Regions from separate parts of the Homo sapiens genome. Here region 2 is linked to region 1. Evidence: promoter capture Hi-C in human tissues and cell types (Jung and others, 2019). All regions are on one chromosome and are shown on one strand. Each heading gives the region's core, a stretch centred on a gene start or on the middle of the fragment in contact. The rest is flanking DNA. Distances are from core to core; before and after follow the strand shown. Region 1 holds the start of KCNJ13 (potassium inwardly rectifying channel subfamily J member 13). Region 2 overlaps GIGYF2 (GRB10 interacting GYF protein 2).

Region 1 (4,651 bases), core at 1,362-3,861:
AATAAGTATCACTATTAGTCCCATTTTACAGATAACGAAAGTGAGGAACCAGGCATGGTGACTCATGCCTGTAACACTAGCACTTTGGGACGTTGAGTCGGGAGGATTGCTTGAGGTCGGGAATTCAAGACCGATCTGGCCAACATAGCGAGACCCTGTCTCTAAAAGAAAAAAAAAAAAGAAAGAAAATGAGGTATAATGAGGTAGTAAGTGGTGGATATGAATATTATACATTCTGAGTCCAGAGTTAGTGCCATATTGCCTCCAAAACAGATGTTTGACCCTGCTTAGCCTTTGTGAATAATACAGTTTCATTTGATTAGTTTTGTTCAAGAGCCGCTCCAGAGTGTTTGTTCTTCAGTAATGTTTATTGGGTTCAGACCTATTATTTGTAGGTTAGAAACAGATATTCAGTTAGGAAAGACTTCTTTCAAGACTTGAAGATTATCACAGTCTGAATTATTAGATAGTCCAGTTGTGTTTTGCACATCAGTAAAATTAAAGCAATGTAGAGAGGAGAGTTATGACATAACATTGCCAAGTTTCTGTTTTGCCAGATGAGAAGACAATTTTACAAGTATAATACTGTCATTATAAATAAAATTATGATGACATAATAAAAGATTTTGACACATGGAAGAAGGATATAACAATGAAAGGATAGTTGGTTGCCTTCAAAATGGTGGGTGAACAACTTTGTCATTCTCCACTGTTGTTGCTTCCTGCCTATGTGAAAATGCCCCTCATGCTCCTGGACACTAGTGCTTGTTCCACATTTGGAGCCACTGTCCTACTGAATGCTGCTAAGTGCTTAGTGTTTCACAAAAGCTTGAGAAAGAAAAAACTCCATGATTCTTTTGTATTTTCAACCTATTTTATGAAAGTTCTAAAATTCCTTACTTAGAGCCTTTCTGTATAGACTGTAGCTAACAAAATTCATCATTCTCATTTGGGCTTTTTCAGGACTGTTGTTACTTCTTACCTACAACTTTTGTAGCACTCTTACTCTAGGCTCTTTACAATTGTATTTTTTTTCTCTTGCAACTAAATACATGGAAAAACCTGTGAACAGGGAAGTCAAAAGGCTGATAATCGGAACAGTTAAGCAGCATTTTTTTTTTTTTAACCTAAGACTGCTGGATTTGGTTTGGATTGTGTTGGCAAGTGGAGTAATATAGAGAAGGAAGATTGATTTCTGATTCCCACTTAACCAATTACCCTGAATAACTATTCTGTGGACTCTTATAGTCAGTGTGGTTTAGTGTAGAGAACGCAGGATAAGGGGATATGGCCTTCAGGCTCTAGCACTGTTGGTTACATAGCTGTGTCATTTTGGGCAAACCACTCAATCCCATTGGCCTGGCATCCTTAGATTAAAACAAAGAAAGTGAAAAAAGAGGGAATTATGATAATAAGATTTCTTAAAGCTCTACAGACTTATGTAAACAAACATATTTCCACTTCCTACAAAGGATACAAGTTTCCTATATGATTTCTTTTATTTCTGTATAGTTTGATGTCTGCTCGTATGGTTTAAAAAATTATACTATTGTTACCTGATATTTAAGTCTCATCAGCTGATCCCAATAGAAAGTGAGGTGGAAGGTTGGGAAGGTTTGCTTCTATTGCTGTGTGTGGGCTGTAAAATATTTGCCCATTTATAAATTATTTGGAGGAAAAATAGTACCTATTAAAAAATGATAGGCAGCTTCACTGATCATCAGAATTCATTCTACTCATTGGGTTGTAGCACTTAAAAGTATGTATTTTCTGTTGCCATGATAAAAAATAGTATAGTTCATACTGAGGAGTTAAGATAAAGGCTATAACTAACAAACATTAAATGAAGATGGCATTACTATGTATTTGTTCATGTCTGGTGTAAATACTTTAAGACTATATTGAAAGTCTTATAATGATTTCTCCTGCCCTCCACAATTAGGGCAAACACTATTGAGTTCTAACCCTGTTATATAAGCTCAGAGATTCTATTTTAATTTCTCAGTTGCAGAAGTATCTATTAATTTCCGCAATAATTCCATGCTTAAAAATTTACGATTAGGATACTCATCACTTTCTTCTTAGATTACAGAAGTAAAAACAAAGTGGCTTATTCTTTTGGCATTTGTTTTTTTATGCTCATTTTGGGTTTTTGAAATTCCTTCCAAAAGAAAAAGACTTTTTTTTTCCTCAAGCCACTGAATTTTTTTTCCTAAGGCCTTTATCCTCTACTGATATATTGTAATAGAAAATTAGTATACATTTAATAAAACAGTTAAGAAAATTTCCAGTAATACATTCAATATGGCTGTTATTGCATTTTTAAGATTTAAGGGAAAAGAATATAGAAACCTTACTATCCTACACTATAGATAATGTCTTTGTTTTAAAAATCTGTTGGAAGTAATCTAGCTCTGTTGCTATTTGCCAGTCAGTTTCTTTCCCTGTTTCCCATAAGGAAAGAAGAATGGATATTATTGCATGTACTCACCAGTTCTTTTGCTGGGTCAGCCTTTATGCCAAGGTAGGTCTTAAGGAAATTTACAGAGTCTGCCTTTTTGATCAGATAATTTTAATCTACAAGTCTAGTTTGTAGGTTCTCTTCTTGGACTGGTTTTACAGCTTACATTCCTCTGTTTATAATGTTGTGGGGGCTGGTTTCAGCTGAGGTTGATGTGATTGGTCACTTAGCCTGCAGGGGGGCCAATTAGCTCTGATCATGTGGAAAAGAATGCTGGTTTGTTAGGAGGTCTTTCTTTACCCAACACAAACCTTAACAACTCTGGAGAAAGCCTCCAGAACTGACTTGGAGAAGGGGTGCATTTTTTCCCTCTAATCAGGACCGGTCTTTAGTAAGTTTGCATAATCTTACTTAAGAGTTTTTTTGAAAGTTCAAAGGGATAAAATTCCCTGCAAGATTTTTCAGCCGTCTTTCCTTATATAGCATGTTGAAGTGTGAGATATTTCCTTTACTAATCTTTTTTTTTTTCCACCATGTCTTTGGGGAAGATTTATTTGGATAAGGACTTATAGGCATAAATTAATGCATTGATTTTCTTAGTTTTCTTCTCATGTCTCATCAGAATGGCTACCATTAGTTCCAGAACTAGTAATATAGATAATTACGTGAAATCTTTTATTTTTTTGGTTAGGAAACAAACTTTTTTTTTTTAAAGGCTGTATACAAAGACCTTGAATAGGAATAAAATTAATTGTTCTGTACCTGATACTTTAAAAAATGCACACCTGTGGGAAAGAACCGAAGAATTTTCTTAAGGCTTATTTTAATGATGTTTAGAAGATGTTTTCCTGATCAGTGTGATGAAGTATAGTGTTAATAAAACATAGTGTACAGTGTACAGAAAATGTAACACAACATTGAAATAGTGTTTAGCTGGAAAATGTGATCCAGCTTGTTGGAACCCTGAAACGTGCTGTGGTATGGCTTTGTGCAGTGCCTTAGTGAACAGTACTTTTCTCCTCCTCCGTTAGCTGCTGATTTTAAAACTTTGACCAAATGTCACATGTAAGAGGATCTGAGAAACAAAGACTGTGATTGTTCAAAGTAAAATCTTGGAAGGCCTGCTGGGAAAATTATTAATGTAGACCAATATAATGCTACTTAGAAAGTGAAATCCGCCTTTGTAGAATCCTCTCCGTCCCCCCCCCGCCCCACAATTTAAAAAATATATTAATTCCTTCTTTGTTTTATTAGTACCAAATACTTCAACACAAGTTCAGACACAGCATTAGAAACACTGACCTTCAGAACTAGGGAAGGTAAAGTATAAAGAAGGATTTGTGGTGTGATGCTCATTCCCTGCATGTACTGGTAGGAATTATAATGTGTATCAATTCCCAGCTAACAAATTGCAGAAAAACAGAACAACACAACAACAAAATACTAGAACAAGTATAGTATAATACTGCTTCTAGAAAGCAGAAGCACTTGAGTGTATCTGTCATGTGTTTTGAATATACATTGTATATTTTTTATTTTCATTTTTTTTAGACATAGAGTCTTGCTGTGTCACCCAGGCTGGAGTGCAGTGGTGTGATCACAGCTCACTGCAGCCTCGACCTCCCAGGCTCAAGTGATCCTCCCACCTCATCCCCCACCCCCTGCAGTAATGCCACCACATCTGGCTAATTTTTTATTTTTTGTAGAGGCAGGGTCTTGCTGTGTTGTCTAGGCTGGTCTTGAACTCCTGGGCTCAAGCTGTCCTCTCAATTCAGCCTCCCAAATTCCTGGGATTACAGGCATGAGCCACTTCACCTGGCCTGAGAATACATATTATAGTAGGCAAGACAGTTAAGGATTTTATTAAACTTAAAAGTCTTTTTCCATAGTATACTTGGTTTCAATATATTGAGACAAAAATGATTTGGCAAAATGATCTTCAATTAAGAAAGAAATGTCTTAAGTGAAGCTAATTTCTGGATCTCTACAATTTGAAAGTCTTGCTATGGTCTATAAACAGTGATTCCTACTGCTGTGAATATTGTAGACCAGCTCTGAAGTGCCCACTTAGGAGCATAGCTCTCCCATTACAATAGCCTGAGCATTTAAAGTCATTTCTGGTTGAAGTTACCAGGTTAGCTGGTGTAGGGGAGAGAGAAGACCTTCTCTCTTCCTTTTGAAGGTTTGATA
Region 2 (4,651 bases), core at 1,430-3,929, 43 kb before region 1:
AAAAAAAAAGAAATCTTTACATTAGGAAATAATTTTCTTACAGAAACCATGTTGTAAATGGTAGTTGGGTTCCCAGCTCAAGACATTAAAAAATCTTCTGAGCTCTTAATGGTTGTACATTGTAGTAGTTTTGTAGTACTCAAAGATTTATAGGTGCAATGATAAAGTGGACCCAAACAGAATTTCCTTGCTTGTTGTTGTTCCTTAGATGCTGCTTGAATCTGGGGCTTCGTTTATATTTCAAGACTGCTGCCTGTAGGAGCTCCATCTGTATCATTTGTGTTAATAGTGACCCTGGAGTTTTGTACTTCCAGAACCTATGTGAGCATATGTGATGGCCTTGTAGTAAGTTAAAGGGGAAAAAATTAAATCACTAACAATGAATTTAGTATTTTCACAAATAGCAAATACTTTGAATTTTAGTTGAGATTTACCTGCTTTATAAATTCAGTCTGATTTAAATCCTGACTTGCTTTATAAATGCAGAGCCATTATTCAATGCTCTAAAATCCTCTACGGGTTTGAGTTTAAAACATTTGGCTAGATGGGGCTTAAAATGGTGGTAAAACCGCTCCTTCAGGATGTTTAGTATTAAAGAAAAACCTTACAATTGATGTGGTCTCTACAGCTCTAGTTGATGTAGTCTCTTCATCTCTGTTTGTCATCCAAGTAGGTCCACATACTTTTAGAAAACACACTGAATTGATTTATGTTACAAAAAGTCATAAGACTGTTGTGTAAGCAGTGATGCCTGTTTTAGTTTAACAGTGGGCACCTTTCCTGGGGTCTGATCATTGCTACCTTGACAAGTCATTCATTTGGAATGTACCATAATTTTAATTGAATCTAACATGTGTCAACTATAAGATTAATCATTTTGTGCATTACTGAGAAAGAAAGGAATACTGCCAAGAAGGCTCCGGCACATCTGGCACAGGCTTTTCTTGTTAGAATTATTTTATATTTTTTAAAAAAGCTCTGTTAAACTTATTTAGCAAATAAGAATGGATTTTTATTAAACAGTGTATCCTTCTATTGCATGTATGAAAATGAAAATAGAAGTAAAATAAATTTGTTAAGATAGTCGTAAGATTTCTGGGTATTTAGAGTCTGACTTTTCTAAATCACTTTTCAACTTGGCATCATAGAAGTCTCCTGCTTTCTTCCTCCCTCTCCCCACCAGTCATGCAAAGTATTGGTGATGCAGTAGTTAAGGGAATTCTCTATTACTCTGTCATCAATTTAAAATTTAGTCGTTTGATGCTTGTGAAGATTTTAAGAGCAATATAAGCTATTTAATTTTTAATCCCTTTTAGTACTTCAGGGCTGCTGCATGTGGTCATATGGGTTGTGCAGTGTCATCAGTATCGGTAGCAAACCATAACAGACTCCATTGGCTTGTGTGTTTTTCCCCCCTTTCTTTCTGAGGTCCTGTAAATCACTTGGAATCATTCTTTGAATGATGAATAGTTACTTCACTAATACTCCATGGCTGTATTTGCTTCTTTTCTGTTATACAATAAATTTAGTTTTGATACAGAATCATATTATTTTGAAGACATTTAAAACAGCGGTTTAAAAAATTGGCCCTTGTTCAGACAGCTGTAACACAACTCGCACCCAGCCAGTAGCAGTTGTAACTTGGCATCAGTTTTAAGATGCATTCTAATTTCAGAGAAATTAAAATGTTAAAAATAGTGTTTTCTTTTTTATTTTAATTTTTTTAATTTTTTTTTTTTTTAATTGAGACAAGGTCTTGCTCTGTTGCCCAGGCTGGAGTGCAGTGGTGCAATCACGACTCATTGTAGTCTCAAGCTCCACAGCATAAGTGATCCTCCCACCTCAGCTGGGACTACAGGCTCGCACCATCATGCCCAGCTAATTTTTATATATTTTTGTGGAGACAGGGTTTTGCCATGTTGCCCAGGCTGGTCTTGAACTTCCGGGCTCAAGCGATCCACCCACCTTGGCCTCCCAAAGTGCTGGGATTACAGGTATGAGCCACCATGCTCGGCAGTTATGTTTTCTTTGAATCACTAGTTGTTTTAAGAGATGAGGAGGGGCGGGGCGCAGTGGCTCACGCCTGTAATCCCAGCACTTTGGGAGACCTAGGCAGGCTGATCACGAGGTCAGGAGATCAAGACCATCCTGGCTAACATGGTGAAACCTTGTCTCTACTAAAAATACAAAAATATTAGCCGGGTGTGGTGGCACGTGCCTGTAGTCCCAGCTACTCGGGAGGCTGAGGCAGGAGAATGGTGTGAACCCGGGAGGCGGAGCTTACAGTGAGCCGTGATCGCGCCACTGTACTCCAGCCTGGGCGACAGAGCGAGACTCTTGTCTCAAAAAAAAAAAAAAAAAAAGTGATGAGGAGGGGACTAAGTTTACCTCAGTTTTAGTCTGGTTTGCACCTTTTGTGTGGTGGGGGAGCAGGGAGTCAGGGTCAAGTAAGAACAGGATAATCTCCCTTGGAGTCTGCTTGGTTGACACAGGGCTGGAAGTACCTTTCAGAAGGAAGGCAGATAAATGAATAGCTGATTATGAAGGTTAACACACTTTTACTTTGCTGTTTCTAAGCTTTAGACATATTTGTAGTTTATTATTTTTTAGATCATTTAAACAGAGGCAACAGGGTGATAAAGGGAGAGAATCCTTAACTTGGTCCCCAGTGCCGTGTGTGATGTATCTTAGAGATATTTTACAGTATACAGTTGTCCCTCAGTATCCATGGGGATTCATTCTAGGATGTCCTTCAGATGTTAAAATCCTTGGATGCTCAAGTCCCTAATGTAAAATGGCATAGTGTTTGCGTATAACCTATGTACATACTTCTATATACTTTAACACCTCTAGATTACTTATAATGCTTAATACAACATAAATGCTGTGTAAATAGTTGTTCTGCTGTATTGTTTAGGGAACAATGACAAGGAAAAGAAGTGTCTATACATGTTGGTACAGACGCAATTAAAAAATTTTTTTCCATCCGAGGTTGGTTGAATCCATGAACCAGAACCCATGGATATGGAGGGCCAGTTATATTTACAATTTTTATAGTATTTTCCATTTTTTTAAGCTCTCATATCTTAAGATTACTTTTGAAATGTCACTTGTGAAATTCATTAGTTTATTATTTTAACTTGACAATCTGAAGCAACTTTTAAAAAATTTATATTTTATTTATTTATTTTAAAACTTTTTTTTTTTTTTTTTTTTTAAAGAGATGGAGTCTCACTATGTTGCCCAATCCAGTCTTGAACTCCTGGGCCCAAGCCGTCTGCCTGGCTTGGCCTCCCAAATTATAAATTTATTTTTATTTGTTTATTTTGTAGAGACAGGGTCTCACTCCATCGTCTAGGCTGGAGTGCAGTGGCAGGACCACAACTCACTGCAGCCCCAAACTCCTGGGCTCAAGTGATCCCTCCACCTCACCCTCCCAGGCAGCTAAGACTACAGGCATGTACCACCATGCCCAGTTGATCTTTAACATTTCTTTTTTTTAGAGACCACGTCTCCACCTCCTGGGCTCCAACGATTCTCCCATCTTGGCCTCCCAAAGCGCTGGATTTACAGGTATGAGCCACCTTGCCTGGTGGTTCCTGGCCTGATCCAAGATAATTTTTAAAAGAAGCAGTAGGCTCGAGAGGCTGAGACAGGAAGATCACTTGAGGTCAGGCCAAGAGTTCGAGACCAGCTTGAGCAACATAGTGATACACACTGTCTGTTAAAAAAAAATCACTAGGGTGTAAAGTGCTAATAAGCAGAAGGTGAGGAGAGTTGTGGCAGAAGCTATGTGATAGGTAAGGAGGGTCCTTATTTTAATAATCTTTGATGTACCTCATGGTGATAGGGGAGTCATTACTAGGAAGTAATATGAACTAAAATGTAAATCTATTACCTTTCATTCACTCCCCATTGTTCCAGGGATAAAGGGAGAAAATCCTTAACTTAGTCTCCAATGCCCTGTGTGGTCTGTTCCTACCTCTCTCACTAGCTTCATCTTAAACTGTGCCTCCTTACCCCAGATTAACATAGAAAGGTGGGGAGTCAGAATATAAGGGTTGATTTATTCATTTCACTTTGCCTGCTATATTATTGTTTTAAGTAGGAATTTCAAAATCTCATTTTTGTGACTCTAGTTGAGAGGAGCATAAATAAAACACTCTCTAACTGTACTTTCTGGCCTGGAATTCCACATTTAATCTCAACTAATAGTATGGAGATATTTTTCTCGTTAACAGGTTTCTTCACATATAAAAATCTATTGTAAAAATACGGAAAAGAATGGCAGCGGAAACGCAGACACTGAACTTTGGGCCTGAATGGTGAGTTTTCAAAATCTCATCTTCTTTGATATTGGATGACTAATACAGTAGTAAAGTATTTGACAGGTGCTAGGTGGTTTATAAATGTGCATGTTTTTGAAACTTTTGCTTTATGTGCCTCGCTGAAAACAATGTGTTAGTTCAGGAATAAATTATATTTGGTAAATGAGTGTATTCTATACTTAATTAAAATTTTTTTTCTTTGTCTGGTTATATATGTAATGATGGCGGGAGTCCCACCCGCCCTAGAAAATTATTTTCTTTTTATTTGAGTCGTTGTCTAGGTGCACATACAATTTTATGTAAGTATAATTATAACATTTTTA

Evidence for each region. Contacts are between HindIII fragments. The study calls those that stand out against the background at their distance.
Region 2: a fragment that was not itself captured here is called in contact with the fragment with the promoter of KCNJ13 in region 1 in 1 of the 25 tissues and cell types used here (adrenal gland).

Annotation. Positions count from the first base shown.
Region 1 is chr2:232,773,954-232,778,604 of GRCh38, forward strand. It overlaps KCNJ13 (potassium inwardly rectifying channel subfamily J member 13), which reads right to left and starts at 2,612. Exons shown (of 3, transcript NM_002242.4): 1 at 2,492-2,612. The region is part of intron 8 of GIGYF2 (GRB10 interacting GYF protein 2); the gene reads left to right. The HindIII fragment of the contact is 9,389 bases long and covers 1-4,651 here.
Region 2 is chr2:232,730,914-232,735,564 of GRCh38, forward strand. It overlaps GIGYF2 (GRB10 interacting GYF protein 2), which reads left to right. Exons shown (of 29, transcript NM_001103146.3): 3 at 4,242-4,325. The coding sequence starts at 4,285. Among named protein-coding and RNA genes, the nearest start is that of GIGYF2, 36 kb to the left of the region's middle. The HindIII fragment of the contact is 4,206 bases long and covers 577-4,651 here.